Regions from separate parts of the Homo sapiens genome. Here all the other regions are linked to region 3. The links are contacts of gene promoters, found by promoter capture Hi-C in blood cells and fetal thymus (Javierre and others, 2016). All regions are on one chromosome and are shown on one strand. Each heading gives the region's core, a stretch centred on a gene start or on the middle of the fragment in contact. The rest is flanking DNA. Distances are from core to core; before and after follow the strand shown.

Region 1 (2,700 bases), core at 92-2,591, 3.1 Mb before region 3:
TACCTGTTGCTCTGTTTTTCAACTGTGTACCTCCAGAGCCCTCTGATTTCTGCATTGCTTCCCTTTCACTCCTGCAGTTTAAAAAAAAAAAAGTTGATTTCAAAATTTGTTTGGAGGGGCATTTGTTATCAATAAAAAGACAAAACCAGAACAGAGTATACAATACAGTAAAAGACACACAAAAAAGTTGATATGGAGCAAAATACTGGAAAAGACTAATGAGAAAACATGAAATTATGTCAACTTCAATAGTATCAATAACAGCAAAATAATCATCTCCAAGAAATGATGTACAAAAGTCAACTTTTTTTCCATTCAAATTGTCAAAATAAACTGTTAGAAACTCACTTCCAATTCTCTGACCACATTAGAAAACACAGACTAGATTTCTGAAAGGAGTGGTTGGTACATTCCCTGTCATCTTCTCCATCTTCTCTGGCCTCTGTATTTCCAAAGCTCCAAATGTTAACATGTGCACATCAAGCTCTACTTTTCCAGTGACATAATGAACTCTCCTACCCAATGTATCACAAGCTCCTTAAACTGAATGTAACTAAAACTGAGGTTGTCACACTGAAGTTATTATGAACCCCTTGTTAACCCAGGGTACCACCAGTTTTCTGGTCCTCAGACTGAAAAACTTAGAATCACCATTGTCTCCTTTTCCTTCATTTCCTACACTCAATGCTACACGTGATGAGAAAGAAAGAGCTTTGGGCTCAAATATGGGTCTGCATCTCAGTTCTACCAATTATGAAATTTATGAATTTAGGCAGATTATTTAACCTCCCTAAACCTCGACTTCCTGACCTGTTTAAAGAGGGAAATAAAAGCCTGTCAAGGTTTTCTGGAGGTGCAAATGAAATTATCTCTCAAGTTACTCACCCAGGGAATACTGGTTCACTTTTCCCTTACACAGTTGCTTTTTTTCTGCTAATGGAGGACTCTAGTTCATACCCCAAGGTTTCCAGCTAATCCAATCAATTTCTACAATTGTATCTCTAGCAAGAAATACACACACACAAACACACACACACACACACACACACACACACACACTCATATACCCAAGTGCCTACTGGTATTTTTAGGCCAAGCTTCATTCCCAACTTCCATGAAGCCTTTCCTCATCTTGGTTTCTCAAATGTGTATTTCTATGGCATTGATTTCTATCCTGTGTCCTTATTTCTACTTGATTACTCTGTTCCCTCACTTCCACGACAATCTAGTTATTCTATTAGCACACGTCTCATTTTAATGCCTTTAATAATGACTGCCTCTCAAGTATAGTGTAAGATCTTCCCTTAGGACAACACAGGTAAAGTCCTCTTCCACCTCCAAATGACACTTTTTCAAATATTTGATGGCATTAACTCTTAACTCCTTCATTTTTTCTTCTTCAGGATAAACACTGATACTTTTTAAAATGATTCCTCACATGAAATGCTTTTAATCCACTTAACAAGTTAGAAATCCTCAAAAGGAGGACAAAGCTCCATGTTATAAAATTTAGCCAGATATCTCAAACATGATGTACCAGCTTAAAGTCTGATACCATGTAAAGATAACCTAAATGTAAGCTTGCTTCTGCACACTGAATAATTTCAATTTCCTTGATTTAGTACATTGATCTCATTTATCTCATCCCACTACCAGCAGATGACTTACTTCCCAGTATCACACTTCACCTCCATTCCCAGGGCCATTTTCTAATACTACGGTAATTAAAATCTCATTAAAGTTGTCAGATAATAGTCTAAAATAAGCTGAGAGAAGCTTTAAATATGTTAACCTACTATTGTACTTCTGTGATCATTCAACAAGTATTTAATATTGTGCCTGACTTCTGTTTTGAGAAGCTCCTGGAGGGGGAACAACACAAGTTTCTATTGAAAAAAAAAATGCATCAGTTTCCTCAACTCTATAATTGGGCATAATTACAGGAACTACTTTAAGTGTTGATGAAGACTAGTAAGAATATATGTAAAACAACATTTCCATAATGGGAGGCATGCAGTAAGGGCCACATGAGTCTTAGCTATTATTATAATTTTCTTTACAATGGTACAAAGTGTTCTTCAGTATTACTATTACTAATAGTGAAACCACATGTTTTGTCATTTTTAAAAAATCTGGCTTAACATCTTGGGCTACATCAATTTGAAGACCAGCTGAGGTCCAATTTCTCTTGATCATCAATTGTTAACAGCTGCAACAGATAAAAGCGATGCACAGCAAAGACGCGTACCCACAAACATAACAAGGGCACAGGCAGCCATATCAAATTATGATGCACATTTTTCAATACTACCTACCAATTCAGTGGAAGTTTTGGATGGAATTTTATGGCTAAATTTCTATCTTCCTTCACGTCAAAAAGTTGTTCCTGTAACAAACTAATGGGGAGGTGTTGCATTATATTTTGAATGAGTTCAAAAAGTCACCAAAACTCATTTGAAAAAGTTTTAAACATGGTAGAAAATCGAGCTTCTACAGTTTATGAGTATACAGGACAACTTTTATGTACAATATATAATTTTCAGCATTAAACATACAGTAATGCAAACACGTCTACATCCCCTTTCAAAATCCTGTATTAGAGAATTTCCTTCCAAAACAATTGCTTTTTCACTTAAAATTTTTATCCTTTACCTTAACGACAAATTACAGTTGGCTCTCCGTATATGCGGGTTCCACATC
Region 2 (2,700 bases), core at 187-2,686, 4.0 Mb after region 3:
CATCCTCCTGAGCACCTGCCACCATGCCCAGCTTATCGTTGTATTTTTTTGTAGAGACAGGGTCTCATTATGTTGCCCAGACTGGTCTCCAAATCCTAGGCTCAAGGGATCTTCCCTCCTTGGCTTCTGAAAGTGCTGGGATTATAGGCATGGGCCACCTCACCTGGCCACTACTTGTTCTTGAATGTAAATATTTGCAAAGACAAGAAAGCCTTCTACCCTTGCTATACCCCTCAAAAAAAGGGTGACTAAGTTATTTAGAGATCATCCAGTCTCCCTGACTTGACAAGTATTTATGTTCAAGTACATCTTTGAGAATGAAGTGTAGCTTTTTTTTTTTTTAACAGTTAAACAAATCTGTTTTATACCTGCCACCTCTTAATTTCCTTTTGTCCCATAGGAACCTCTCGAAAGCCTATCTAGTCTGATAGTTTCAACCAACAGGAAGCCCCACAAATCAAAATTCACACCCTGACTAAAAGACAAACCTATTTAGCCACAGGTAATACTAGAAACCAGAAGCCTGGGGGCTCAGACAGTGTCTCCTTGTGCATAAGAGAAGAGGGAAATTCACAATAGCTTTGTTGTCTACATTTTAAAGGATGTCTGAGGAACCTGTAAAAGAGTCCAGGTGAGATCAAAAGATGCCATTAGAAGGCTGCATAATAATACCTGGTGGGAAAAGGTCAAAGCTGTTTCTAGAAAAAGTAGAAACAAAAAAGATCTGTTGGGTGACAGGCCCGCTGCCTGTAGTTTCCACAAAGGCTTTCAAAGAGAACAATGACCAAAATAGCTTAGGACTAGGGGATAAGGGAGTGGAGGTAGGGTAGAGCACCCCTTCACACACATTTATACAGAGCCCTACTGATTACTTTCATTCAGTGATTTGCATAGCCACCTCCCTGTTCACAAATGATTGCATTGCTTTAAAAGCATGTTTTTTTGGGAGTCTGGCATTTTTTTTCTTCATATATTGACACTCAGATTGAAGGCAAACTTCTTAGAATTGCATTTACTTTTATAGCGTATAAAATCTATAAGGTAAGGGAGCAGTCATTCTTTTATTTAAGGGAACTAAGTCTTACACATGTGAAAATTAAGCACTTAAAATTATTGCTGTACCAGTAAGATATTGTGATCACAAAATCATGTTTGGTGCGAGGTCAGGGGTTCTTGTGGCTGTGTCAGTGATTAAATGCTGGAGCAATTTGCCTATGAGTAATGAGGAATCTCTTTTTCTGGAGACATTTTGAAAGAGGGAAGACAGCTGCCTTCTCTTGGATGATACTGATAATAACATTTTAAAGCTTCCTTAAAGAGATTATTTAGTTATGTTCAATCTGAAGGTATAGGGGTGGACTAGCCCCTGTAAATAAATATAATTTCAAACAGTTTTTTGTACGTATGCTTTGAGACATACTCACTTGACTCCATTAGGTTGAGCTATCTGCACTTGCCATTTTTGTAAGACAAAAATGGTCTAATACCAGTAATTTCAGATGGTTCAACTTAATAGCTGATCTGCTGACTCAGTAGGAGGGAAAATTTTATTCTACTTAAGCTTTTATTTGTACAACAGAATCTGAAAATCCTAGGTAACTGAATAACGAACTTAGCTAAACATAATTTGAAAGGAAGACAAGGAAGTAACTTTAACCAGAAAAACGCCAGCTGTTGGCATTTTGGCTTTGCCGTTGACCTAGGGCTGTAGCTTCTCCCCACTTGGGTGAGGCAGTTATGGCCGCTAAGTGCAGTATGATCATTGGTACTGGACTCCATTTTTCTGTAAGATTAGAGCTGACCTCTGTGTGAGAAAGGACTAAAGCAGAAGTGTTTTGTTTGTTTGCAAAACAAGAGGCTGGAACATAGGCAAACAGAGAAAGAGACTGAAGCAAAAATTTGGGAGTGGATAGTTTAATTTTTTTTTGGTACTTTTTTTTCTATTTTCTATTTTTTTTTTTTTTTTTGAGACGGAGTTCGCTCTGTCGCCAGGGTGGAGTGCAGTGGTGCCATCTCAGCTCACTGCAATCTCTGCCTCCTGGATTCCAGCAATTCTCCTGCCTCAGCCTCCCAAGTAGCTGGGATTACAGGCACGTGCCACCACACCCAGCTAATTTTTGTATTTTTAGGAGAGATGAGGTTTCACCATGTTGGCCAGGATGGTCTCGATCTCCTGACCTTGTGATCTGCCCGCCTTGGCCTCCCAGAGTGCTGGGATTACAGGCGTGAGCCACCATGCCCGGTCCTTTTTGTACCTTTTTACTTGTACCCTAAAACCTTTTTTAAGATTGCTTTTTCTTATTTCTTTTCTACCTACTACATTTTAAATACACCTCTAAGATGTAACAGTGTTTGCAAGATTTGCATTTTTTTTTAATCTTTAAAAAGCAGGTAACCTACTTTGTGCTGAGTTGGCTCATTTTTCTCTATGGCCCACATAAGTAGAATTATAGTTTCACAAGGCGACAAGGTGCTTCCAGAAATGAAAAACTAATCCATCCTGCACTCCAGATGGAAGTGCACTCAAAAATAGCATTTGTAAAGTGTAAGGAAAGATGGCTCCTCATCCATTCCATAGAGAGCAGTTGAGGCTTAGAAGCTAAAAATGACGAGCACTTTGATCTTCCAGCACTATCCTGACTACCTTGACTCCTCCACTTCTTTTTTAGGAAGAAACAAGATTTAAGTGTGTTTCTTAAA
Region 3 (2,771 bases), core at 109-2,608:
AGAGAGTGAGACTCCATCTCAAATCATTTATTTCTAAATCTTTGTACATCCGTGTGGTAAAAGCATTTTGTCCATGCAGTCTGAATAATCGCTTGCAAATTATATTCATTTACCACTGTGCTATTAGATACAATACAAAAGTCACAAAGTTGGGATTTTTATTTATTTATATTTTATTTTACTTTTTTGAGACGGAGTCGAGCTCTTGTCACCCACGCTGGAGTGCAATGGCGCGGTCTCCGCTCACTGCAACCTCCGCATCCCAGGTTCAAGCGATTCTCCTGCCTCAGCCTCTCGAGTACCTGGGATTACAGGCGCACGCCACCACGCCTGGCTAATTTTTGTATTTTTAGTAGAGTCAGGGTTTCACCATGTTGGTCAGGCTGGTCTCGAACTCCTGACCTCATGATCCGCCAGCCTCGGCCTCCCAAAGTGCTGGGATTACAGGCGTGAGCCACCGCGCCCGGCAAAACTGGGATTTAAAATGTGGAAAAGTTAACTCCAATTTGAACGTACATTACTTTATTACTACACAGGAATAGCTCATCTTCCACTTTAAAGACTACTGGAAATCACCAGAGCACTTATTTTCACCTCTCTATCTTCCCTCAATATACAGTTCACCTTTCTTGCTACAAGGTAAACTCCTTGGGCAAAACTGAGAGATTGGGTCACCTGTGCCTCCCTCCCTCCCTAACCTCCAGCATTCCTCCTTCCTCAGCTCTTAGTACCAAGCTGCGCCTGGTAACTTAAGTCAATTTCCGCTCTTAAGAGTCCCTTTAGGATCGTTTAAAGGTGAAGCCCAGCGGAAAGGATACAGGATACAGCAGTGAAACTCTCAGCTCCGAAAAGGCTTGAGCCTCTTACTAAACATGCAGGGATGCAAGAAACGGTGCTCGGGGATGAGACTAAGGACCGGCTGGGAATCTGGAAGGGTTCCAAGTTTGGGGTTTAGGCAAACTTCGGGTTCACGTTTCCACAAACGTCGAGTTTACGCGCCCCCGCCAGCAGACCTGAATTGAATACGGGCCACGGGGAAGCCTAAAGCAAGTGACTTACTTTAAGCCTCAGTTTCCCCATTTGTGAATTAGTTGCTCGGATCCCTGGAGGAGATACGCGTACGCGCAGTTCACGTTTCAGAAAAAAGGGAAGGCTAGGGACAAAGACGCCCATGTCTTATATTACCTCGAAAGATGACTCCAACTCGTCCACCAAAGTACTGCTGGAAGGTCTAGGAGCGCCTGGAGCTGCCTGAAGAAGCGAAGCTTGGCCCGGAAGGCCCGGCGGGGCCTGAGGGGGACCGGGTGGCTGCCCAGAAAACATACCCCCTAGTGGAGCCGCCATGTTTGGAATGGCGCAAGAGAGATCCACTGCGCCTGCGCGGAAGCCGGCTCAGAAGCTCACGTGGCTGGTGTAGTAGGCGTGGTCACGTGACAGGACCGAGCGATGGGAGGATTCTGGTGCACCCCGGAAGGAGGATTTTTAATTCTTCTGTTTTCTTGTCTATCGCAAAACAGAGTTTACATGTATTTTCCTTTTTTCTTAGCTTAAGAATTGAAGACTTTGGCCGGATTAGACCTGGTTGTGTGGAGAGGAGAATTAATAACTACAGTGGAGCGAGCCCTCCTGCGAGAGTCAGGATACTACTATGCTAGTCCCGACTCTGCCCCAAATGCCTGGAGAGACTTTGGCTAAGTCACTTTTTCTTTCCGCGGGCTGTTTACCGTTGGTAAAAGGAGAGGGTCACCCACTCACTCCACAAACATTTGTTGAGTCATTGGTTATAGCGGGAACAAGACAGGCAAAGTTCTTCCTGAATTCTGGTCGGAGATGGATAACGGAAACAACTTTGTTGAGGTTCCCAATGTGCCCGGCACTGATGTCTTTAAATATTTATGGTTACATCAAAGAGAAAGTCACTATGCTAATCTTTTTTTTTCTTTCTTTTCTTTTTTCTCAGGGTCTCGTTCTGTCGCCCTGGCCGGAGTGCAGTGTCATGATCAGGGCTCGACCTCCCGGGCTCAAACAATCCCCCTACTTCAGCCACCCAAGTAGCTAGGACCACAGGTGCGTGCAGTCGCGACGGGCTTTTTTTTTTTTTTTTTTTTTTTTTTTTAGTTGAGTCAGGTGTTTTACTGAGCTCAAGTGATTCTACCGCCGCGGCCTCCCAAAGTGTTGGGAATACAGTAATGAGCCAAGGCGCCAGGCTGCTAATTTTTTTTTTTTGAGACAGAGTCTCGCTTTGTCGCCCAGGCTGGAGTGCAGTGGCGCGATCTTGGCTCACTGCAAGCTCCGCCTCCCGGGTTCACGCCATTCTCCTGCCTCAGCATCCCGAGTAGCTGGGACTACAGGCGCCCGCCACCACGCCCAGCTAATTTTTTGTATATTTGGTAGAGATGGGGTTTCACCGTGTTAGCCAGGATGGTCTCGATCTCCTAACCTCGTGATCCGCCCGACTCGGCCTCCCAAAGTGCTGAGATTACAGGCGTGAGCCACCGCGCCCGGCACTAGGCTGCTAATCTTGTAGTAACCTGCTTTTAACATTTGCTTATCTCTCTCTTTTTTTTTGGTGACGGAGTCTCGCTCTGTCGCCCAGGCTGGAATGCAGTGGCGCGATCTCGGCTCACTGAAACCTCCGCCTCCTGGGTTCAAGCAATTCTCCTGCCTCAGCCTTCCGAGTAGCTGGGACTACAGGCGCCCGCCGCTCGGCTAGTTTTTCTGTATTTTAGTAGCGCCGGGGTTTCACCTTGTTGCCCAGGCTGGTCTCGAAC

What was found. The method cuts DNA at HindIII sites, captures the fragments that hold promoters and counts their contacts. A CHiCAGO score of 5 or more calls a contact.
Region 1: a fragment that was not itself captured here is called in contact with the fragment with the promoter of MED28 in region 3 in 5 of 17 cell types (total B cells, total CD8 T cells, non-activated CD4 T cells and 2 more); the score reaches 14.7 in total B cells.
Region 2: a fragment that was not itself captured here is called in contact with the fragment with the promoter of MED28 in region 3 in 1 of 17 cell types (non-activated CD4 T cells); the score reaches 5.9 in non-activated CD4 T cells.

The regions. Positions count from the first base shown.
Region 1 is chr4:20,701,837-20,704,536 of GRCh38, reverse strand. It overlaps PACRGL (parkin coregulated like), which reads right to left. Exons shown (of 9, transcript NM_001258345.3): 2 at 4-71. The coding sequence starts at 55. Among named protein-coding and RNA genes, the nearest start is that of PACRGL, 2.7 kb to the right of the region's middle. The HindIII fragment of the contact is 483 bases long and covers 1,100-1,582 here.
Region 2 is chr4:13,616,510-13,619,209 of GRCh38, reverse strand. All of the region lies in intron 2 of BOD1L1 (biorientation of chromosomes in cell division 1 like 1), which reads left to right. Among named protein-coding and RNA genes, the nearest start is that of BOD1L1, 9.9 kb to the left of the region's middle. The HindIII fragment of the contact is 254 bases long and covers 1,310-1,563 here.
Region 3 is chr4:17,613,228-17,615,998 of GRCh38, reverse strand. It overlaps MED28 (mediator complex subunit 28), which reads right to left and starts at 1,358. Exons shown (of 4, transcript NM_025205.5): 1 at 1,186-1,358. The coding sequence starts at 1,344. It overlaps MED28-DT (MED28 divergent transcript), which reads left to right and starts at 1,419. Exons shown (of 3, transcript NR_186331.1): 1 at 1,419-1,857; 2 at 1,961-2,067. RefSeq lists enhancers at 1,209-1,318, 1,419-1,708, 814-2,013. The HindIII fragment of the contact is 7,436 bases long and covers 1,268-2,771 here.